2 separate regions of the Homo sapiens genome follow, and region 2 is linked to region 1. Evidence: promoter capture Hi-C in human tissues and cell types (Jung and others, 2019). All regions are on one chromosome and are shown on one strand. The core of a region is centred on a gene start or on the middle of the fragment in contact, and the rest is flanking DNA. Distances in the headings are between cores, read along the strand shown.

Evidence for each region. The method cuts DNA at HindIII sites, captures the fragments that hold promoters and counts their contacts. A contact is called where the count stands out against the background at its distance.
Region 2: a fragment that was not itself captured here is called in contact with the fragment with the promoter of NR2C2AP in region 1 in 1 of the 25 tissues and cell types used here (dorsolateral prefrontal cortex).

Annotation. Positions count from the first base shown.
Region 1 is chr19:19,202,069-19,205,433 of GRCh38, forward strand. NR2C2AP (nuclear receptor 2C2 associated protein) reads right to left here and starts at 1,346. Exons shown (of 5, transcript NM_176880.6): 1 at 955-1,346; 2 at 723-813; 3 at 402-507; 4 at 263-330. The coding sequence starts at 992. RefSeq lists a silencer at 322-588 and an enhancer at 1,252-1,546. The HindIII fragment of the contact is 14,823 bases long and covers 1-3,365 here.
Region 2 is chr19:18,997,441-19,000,806 of GRCh38, forward strand. All of the region lies in intron 8 of SUGP2 (SURP and G-patch domain containing 2), which reads right to left. Among named protein-coding and RNA genes, the nearest start is that of SUGP2, 34 kb to the right of the region's middle. The HindIII fragment of the contact is 7,801 bases long and covers 1-3,366 here.

The DNA of each region.
Region 1 (3,365 bases), core at 96-2,595:
GTGATTTCTGGTTTCCCACCCGCAGGCCCCCACCCCTTCCAGACCCAGCTCACACTCCACCGATGTGGGCAACCTGGGGAAGCTGCAGGTCCCTCTAAGCCTCTCACACAGAACAGGTGGTCATCAGCACCATTTTACAGAAAAAGTGGAGTCCTAGAGGTCACGTGTTCAAGATCACACATCAGGGTTCCCATTCGGGTTTGGGTGAGTCCAAAGCTTCCAGAGGCACAGACCACCCACCCCAGAAGCAGGGGCAGGATATCTGAAGCGAGTTGTTGTCCTCAGGGTAGAAATCTACAATCTTGTGGAGAGCCTGAGTGCCCTGTGAACCTTCAGCAGAGAAAGGCAATGAGTGTCTGGGGTGACCCCTGGAACCCCTGCCACCCAGGGCCTTCTAGTACCTTCCAGGCAGCCCCGGCGACTGGAGAAGCCACCCTGAAACTGGATCTGCAGCTGGGAGACACGGATGAGCTGGGGAAACTCCAGCGTCACCCACTGGGAGGGGCCCTGGAAGCAGACAGGGAAACTGAGGCGCAAGCTCACTGCAGGCACAGAGCCCTGCTATGCCTGTCTCATTCACATAGTTCTTGGAATGGAGGGGAAGAAGGAAATTCGGCACATGTTCCTTTCCTGGCCACCCATGAGGGCCCCCTGACGTTCTCAAGGCATGAGATCTGAATCTGAATCACCCTAGAGATGGAGGGTCGAGGGAGGCGCCTCACCTGGTCTGAGTTCCAACATGTCTCCTCATCCTGGTCGAAAAGATGTTTTTTTCCAAACTGCCGAGTGTTGCGATTCAGCACTGAACTCACCCTGGAGGCACCAGGATCAAGGCGAAGAGAGGGGCTGAGACCAGCTCTCAGCTCCGCGGAGGGCCTGACCCCCAGATCTGTCCACTGAGGGCTCGACCCCAGGCTTAGGGCCTCGCCACTGCCTGTCCCCACAGACTCTTACCTGCTCACTGTCTCTGGACAAACCAAAGAGTGGGTCATGTCGGTTCCACAAGACCTCGCAGGGCTTAGGATTGGGCACAGCCTTGGTTCGAATCCCGGCGCCTCCTCAAGCTACAGGGCGGCGCGATCTTGGCTACGCCTTGGCCTGAACGTCCTCACCTGTAACTTGGGACGAGAACCGCCACTCCCTCGCCCACCCCAGTCCTAAATGTCGCCTCGATCAATCCCCTGCCGGAAAATTTGGGAGAGAGGATCAGGGAAACCGCCAATGCCCGGAGGCCAGGCCTTTCACAGGAAACAGATTTCCCGCGGGTTTCGGGGGCGGTGGCTTTTTGTGCGAGGCTGTTTCTCTGCGAATAGCTCTTGGAGCCAAATCTTGGGACCCGGAACCGCGTGGGCTTGGCGCATGCGTGTTGTAATTCAGGCGCCGACCGCGGACGCTCCAGAGGTGGGGTTTGGTTCGACCCCGCCCCTTCATGCTCGCTTCTTAAAGGGCCCGGGTTCGATGATTGAATTTACCTTGGTTCCCTTGAAGCTGTAGGGAAAAGGCTGGCTGCGCGCACGGGGCGCTGTCCCTCGGCGCCCGAAGGTGTAGAGCACTGATTTTGACTGATTTTGGAATCCGAAAGACTTCCTTTTTTTTTTTTTTTTTTTGAGGCGGAGTCTCACTGTCGCCCAGGCTGGAGTGCAGTGGCACGATCTCCGCTCACTGCAAGCTCCGCCCCCTGGGTTCACGCCGTTCTCCTGCCTCAGCCTCCCAAGTAGCTGGGAATACAGGCGCCCGCCACCACGCCCGGCTAATTTTTCGTATATTTAGTAGAGACGGGGTTTCACCGTGTTAGCCAGAATGGTCTTGATCTCCTGACCTCGTGATCCAGCCGCCGGGGCTTCCAAAGTGCTGGGATTACAGGCTTGAGCCACCGCGCCCGGCCTTTTTTTTTTTTTTTTTTTGAAGTGGGGTCTCACTGTCACCCAGGCTGGAGTACAATGGTGGGATCGCGGCTCTCTGCGACCTCTGCCTCCCAGGCTCCAGCAATCCTCCTACCCAGCTTCCCGAATAGTTGGAACTAGTAGGCGCGCGCCACCACGGCAGGCTATTTTGTTTGTTTGTTTGTTTGTTTGTTTTTTGGTAGAGATGAGGTTTCGCCATGTTGCCCAGATTGGTCTCGAACTCCTGGGCTCAAGTGATCCGCCCACCTCAGCCTCCCAAAGTGCTGGGATTACAGGCGTAAGCCACCGCGCCCGGCCAGAGAGACTTCCTATGACAATGTCTTTCTTCCTACTCTAACCTACTCTACCCTAACGGCTACCCTAACCTACTCTAACCTACTCTACCCTAACCACTAAATGCAGCCTGGGAATCCCCGAACTTCACTGCCTCCCGGAGGCCAAAGGCAGAGTTGTGGAAAAGGCCACGATGTTGGGAGTATCTGAAGTCCTCATCAACCCTTTTTGTTCTTGTTGGGACAGAGGAGCCCTGGCCTCCAAGTTTGTCTTTCCCAGAAAATGCTGCTGGGACGTCAAGGAAGGCTTCTTGGAGGAGGGAGCATGCGAGGTCGGGTGTTTTTTGTTGTTTCTGTTTTGTTTTGTTTCGAGACGGAGCCTCACTTTGTTGCCCAGGCTGGAGTGCAGTGGTGTGATCTCAGCTCACTGCAACCTCCGCCTCCCAGGTTCAAGTGATTCCCCTGCCTCAGCCTCCTGAGTAGCTGTGACTACAGGTGCGCACCACTATGCCTGGCTAATTTTTGTATTTTTAGTAGAGATGGGGTTTCGCTATCTTGGCCAGGCTGGTCTCGAACTCCTAACCTCGTGATCTGCCCGCCTTGGCCTCCCAAAGTGCTGGGATTACAGGTGTGAGCCACCGCACCCAGGCTGTGAGGTGGGTTTTGAAGCATGAACAGGAGTTTGCCAAACAAAGCCTCAGATACCAAGCTGAAGATTTGGTTCACTGATTCACTAGACACCTCCTGCAAGCTCTACTGTCACACTGTCATGTCCAGCCTTCTGCTGGATGATGCTGGGGACAGCAAGAGGCCTCAGCTCCAGGCCTGTCCCAGAGGAGCCCCTGATCTGGGCAAGACAGAGGTAGACATAGACACTCCTAGCCCCAAGGGAGAGATGGGGCCGGAGGAGCAGGGGCTCTACCTGGAGGAAGGGCTTCCTGGGAAAGGGGATGTTAGAACTGCACCTTAATAGGGGGTCAGGCGCCAGGAATTCACAAGGGTGAGAAAATCTGGAGTGGGGAGGGTGTCCCAGGCAGGGAGCTTAGCATAAGCCAAGGCCTAGTTGGGTGAAAGACCATGAATTTGAATAAAATATGTGGAGCCACATCCTGCTGGGCCCGGAGCAGTCATGGAAGGTGTTGGAGAAAGGGCAGGACACCATCCGTTCTGCATGAATGGAGGGTTCCAA
Region 2 (3,366 bases), core at 831-3,330, 200 kb before region 1:
TGGAGAGGTGCTGAGAACTCAACATGCAGCAAGATGTAGGGGGTCAGAAACGGATACCCTAAGGCTGGGCGCGGTGGCTCACGCCTGTAGTCCCAGCACTTTGGGAGGCCAAGGTGCGTGGATCACGATGTCAGGAGTTTGAGACCAGCCTGACCAACATGGTGAATCCCCATCTCTACTAAAAATACAAAAATTAGCCAGGTGTGGTGGCACGCCCCTGTAATCCCAGCTACTCTGGAGGCTGAGGCAGGAGAATCCCTTGAACCTGGGAGGCAGAGGTTGCAGTGAGTTGAGATCATGCCATTGCACTCCAGCCTTGGCGACAAAGGGAGACTCCGTCTCAAAAAAAAAAAAAAAAAAAAAGAAAGAAAGAAAGAAAGCGATACCCCGAATTATAGCACTTTGACAGGTGGGACTAAAGTAGCAGCCTCAAGGTCCCTCCCAAAGCACAGGAGGAAGCTGTTTTCTTCAAGTTCCCTATCTACCTAGAAACTGGACTTGCCAAAGAAGAACACAAGGGCCTTGGATCCCTTCCCTGAAATGTCATTAACCAGAGTTGAAAACTCCTATCACACAAGAAGAGATGGAACATTAAACACCACACCTAGAGCCCAGACCACTGGCTGTTCTCTAGTCCCATTCAATTCTCAATGAGGATCATTCACAAGATGATGCCTGCCTCCATTCATCTCTCCTAAAATCATCTGCTTCCCCTCTAAAGTTACCTACAGCCTCCCATCTGCCCTCTCCCCTACAAAGAGGTATTTCAGCTTCAACCACCTGGCCCTTCTTTGAGTTTTCATAATGTTTTATATGGCTCCTGTGCTTATGCACGTGAATAAATATGTATAACTTTTTTGTTTCAAGACAGGATCTTGCTCTGTCACCCAGGCTGGAGTGCAGTGGCTCCATCATGGCTCACTGCAGTCTTGAACTCCCGGGCTCAAGTGATCCCCCTGCCTTGGCCTTCCAAAGTCCCGGGATTACAGGTGTAAGCCACCGCACACCTTTTTTTATCCTGTTAATCTTCTTATTGTCAGTTCATTTCAACAGGCTTAGACTTGGACCTTCAAAGGCGGAGGGAAATTCCCTTTGTTCTCTTCAGAGGCATCTCCGAGGGTATTATATAAAGTAGCTGTGTGTGTGTATGCATGTGTGTGTGCGTGTGTGTATGCATGTGTGTGTGCATATGCGTGCACATGTGTGTATCTTGTGTGTGTGCGTGAGTTACTGGATGCAGGCGGCCCCTCCATAATGGCATGAGGTGGTCTTGGTGAGGCGGTGTGGGCAGAAGTGTCTCTGCAGGGCAGTTAAGGAGGGGAGGTATGAAGGGAGGAGCTATGCTATGGGCTGGGACAGGAAGAGGGGCACAAACAGTGAAGAGACACCCCTGCAAACCAGGGGACACCAGACAGGACCTGCTACACTGGGGGGCCCCTTGCCATGAGAAAGTGGCCTGGAGAAAAGAGGTGACAGAACCCACCGGCTGAGATGAGAAACGGGGCATCCGTCAGGCCCTTCTGGGAGCTGTGCACGACCTGGGCCCTGGGATGACGGGTAGGGAAGGAAGGGGAAAGGCTGGTCATGGCAGGGCACAGGGGTCCCCAGAGGGCAGGTCTGTACTCTTTTCCCTTTCAGGAAGGCTGCTTGGAGGTGCAGTGGGAGGAAGAGGGTTTGGCTCAGCCTGGAAGTTTCTTCGTGAATGTTCAAATCTGTGTTTAACAATCATGATGGTGGTTTCCTGGACAGCTGGAGGAAAGCCAAGCCCTGTGGGCGAGGTGGAGGTTTGCAGAGGAAAGCTGCAGCCACCACGGCCTCCCTTCCACCCACAGTCACTGGCAGACAGGAGGACAGGTGCAGAGCCCCAAGGAGACAGCAGCATGTGCAGGACACCCACCAGGAACCGCGTTCAGTTTAATCCTCACTGTACCTCCTACCTGCTGGGTAAGTGTGGCCATCCCATTTTACAGACAAATCCGTGGCTCAGGGGTTACACGCCAAGGTTACAAAACTACTCGGTGGCAGGGCTGAGCTAGAGTACAGCTGTGCCTGACACCAAGGTCCTGCTGTGCCCTCATCTGGCCGTGCCCTTATCCAGGCCACACCAAGGGGCACCAGATGCCAGCTCAGCCTAAAACCTGGCACATCAGTAAGGACTATGAGCTCTGGACTCGGGAAGGTCCCTCCTTCCTGCCATAATTGGGGTCAGACTGACCTAGGTCACTCGGAAGGGGTTGGAAGCAACATGGCACTGCCTGACACCAGCAGAGCGATCTCGCCTGGCTCCCCGCCCTCCTCCCTGACCATGAAGGACTGGTGAAGTCTCTCCACATGTGTCCCAGGTGACCCTGCTTGCCCCCAGCACTGTGTCCCCCAGGCCATCTGGAGTGTACCTGCCCCCTTTCCATAACCTGGCTCCAGGTCAGTGAATGGCAGTTCTGTCCCTCTTCTGCCCAAGCTGACAACCCTGGGGTCATCTGGACTCCTGGCTTTTGCACACCCAGCCCACAAGCAGGTGTCACCCACTCCATCTTCTCCCCTTCTCATTGCTCCTCATGCCCTGGTCCAACTGTCTTAAGTTTGAGCCTCCTCCTGGTTCCCGCCCACAGGCTGCTCTCCACCCTAGTGGCCACATCCACCACAGGTCCCAGAGGTACCCTCCCTTCCCTGAGAAAGGGCCACAGCGTTAACATCTGTTGAGGTCCTGTGTGACCACCCCCCGGATTCCTCTGCTGCCACAAAGGCCTCTTGCTGCCCCAGCCTCTCTACCGAGGCTGTGCCCTTCTCAGATCTCTACACTGTTTCTCCTCAGCTCCTCCAGGCTTGTGCCAACGTCATCTGCAAGAGAGACCTCCCTTGGCTTTCCCAATTCAGCGGCATCCCCTCGACCCCACCTTATTCTCCCTCTCTTTGACCTGCTTCTCTTTGCCCACAGCATCCCCAGGACTGCCTCATCCATTTCTCTTTCACTGTTGGCCCTGCTTGCTGCTGCCTCCAGGTGGACAGTCGGGACCTGGCACGTAGGAGGTGCTGACCGCACACACCACGCTCTGCTTACTAGCAGATTAGTGAACTCTCTTCACCACCCTTCCAGTCTACTAAGCTTGTAAGTTTTTATGTTTTATTTTTTAAGGAGACCAGGAGGAGACATAGGTCTCACTATGTTGCCCAGGCTGGCCTCAAACTCCTGGGCTCAAGTGATCCCCCTGTCTTGGCCTCCCAAAGCACTGGGATTACAGGCGTGAATCAGTGCACCTGGATAACTTGAACTTTTTTTTTTTTTTTGAGACAGGCTCTCAGTCTGTCGCCCAAGCTGGGGTGCAGTGGTGCAATCAGCTCACTGCAGCCACGACCTCTCAGGCCCAA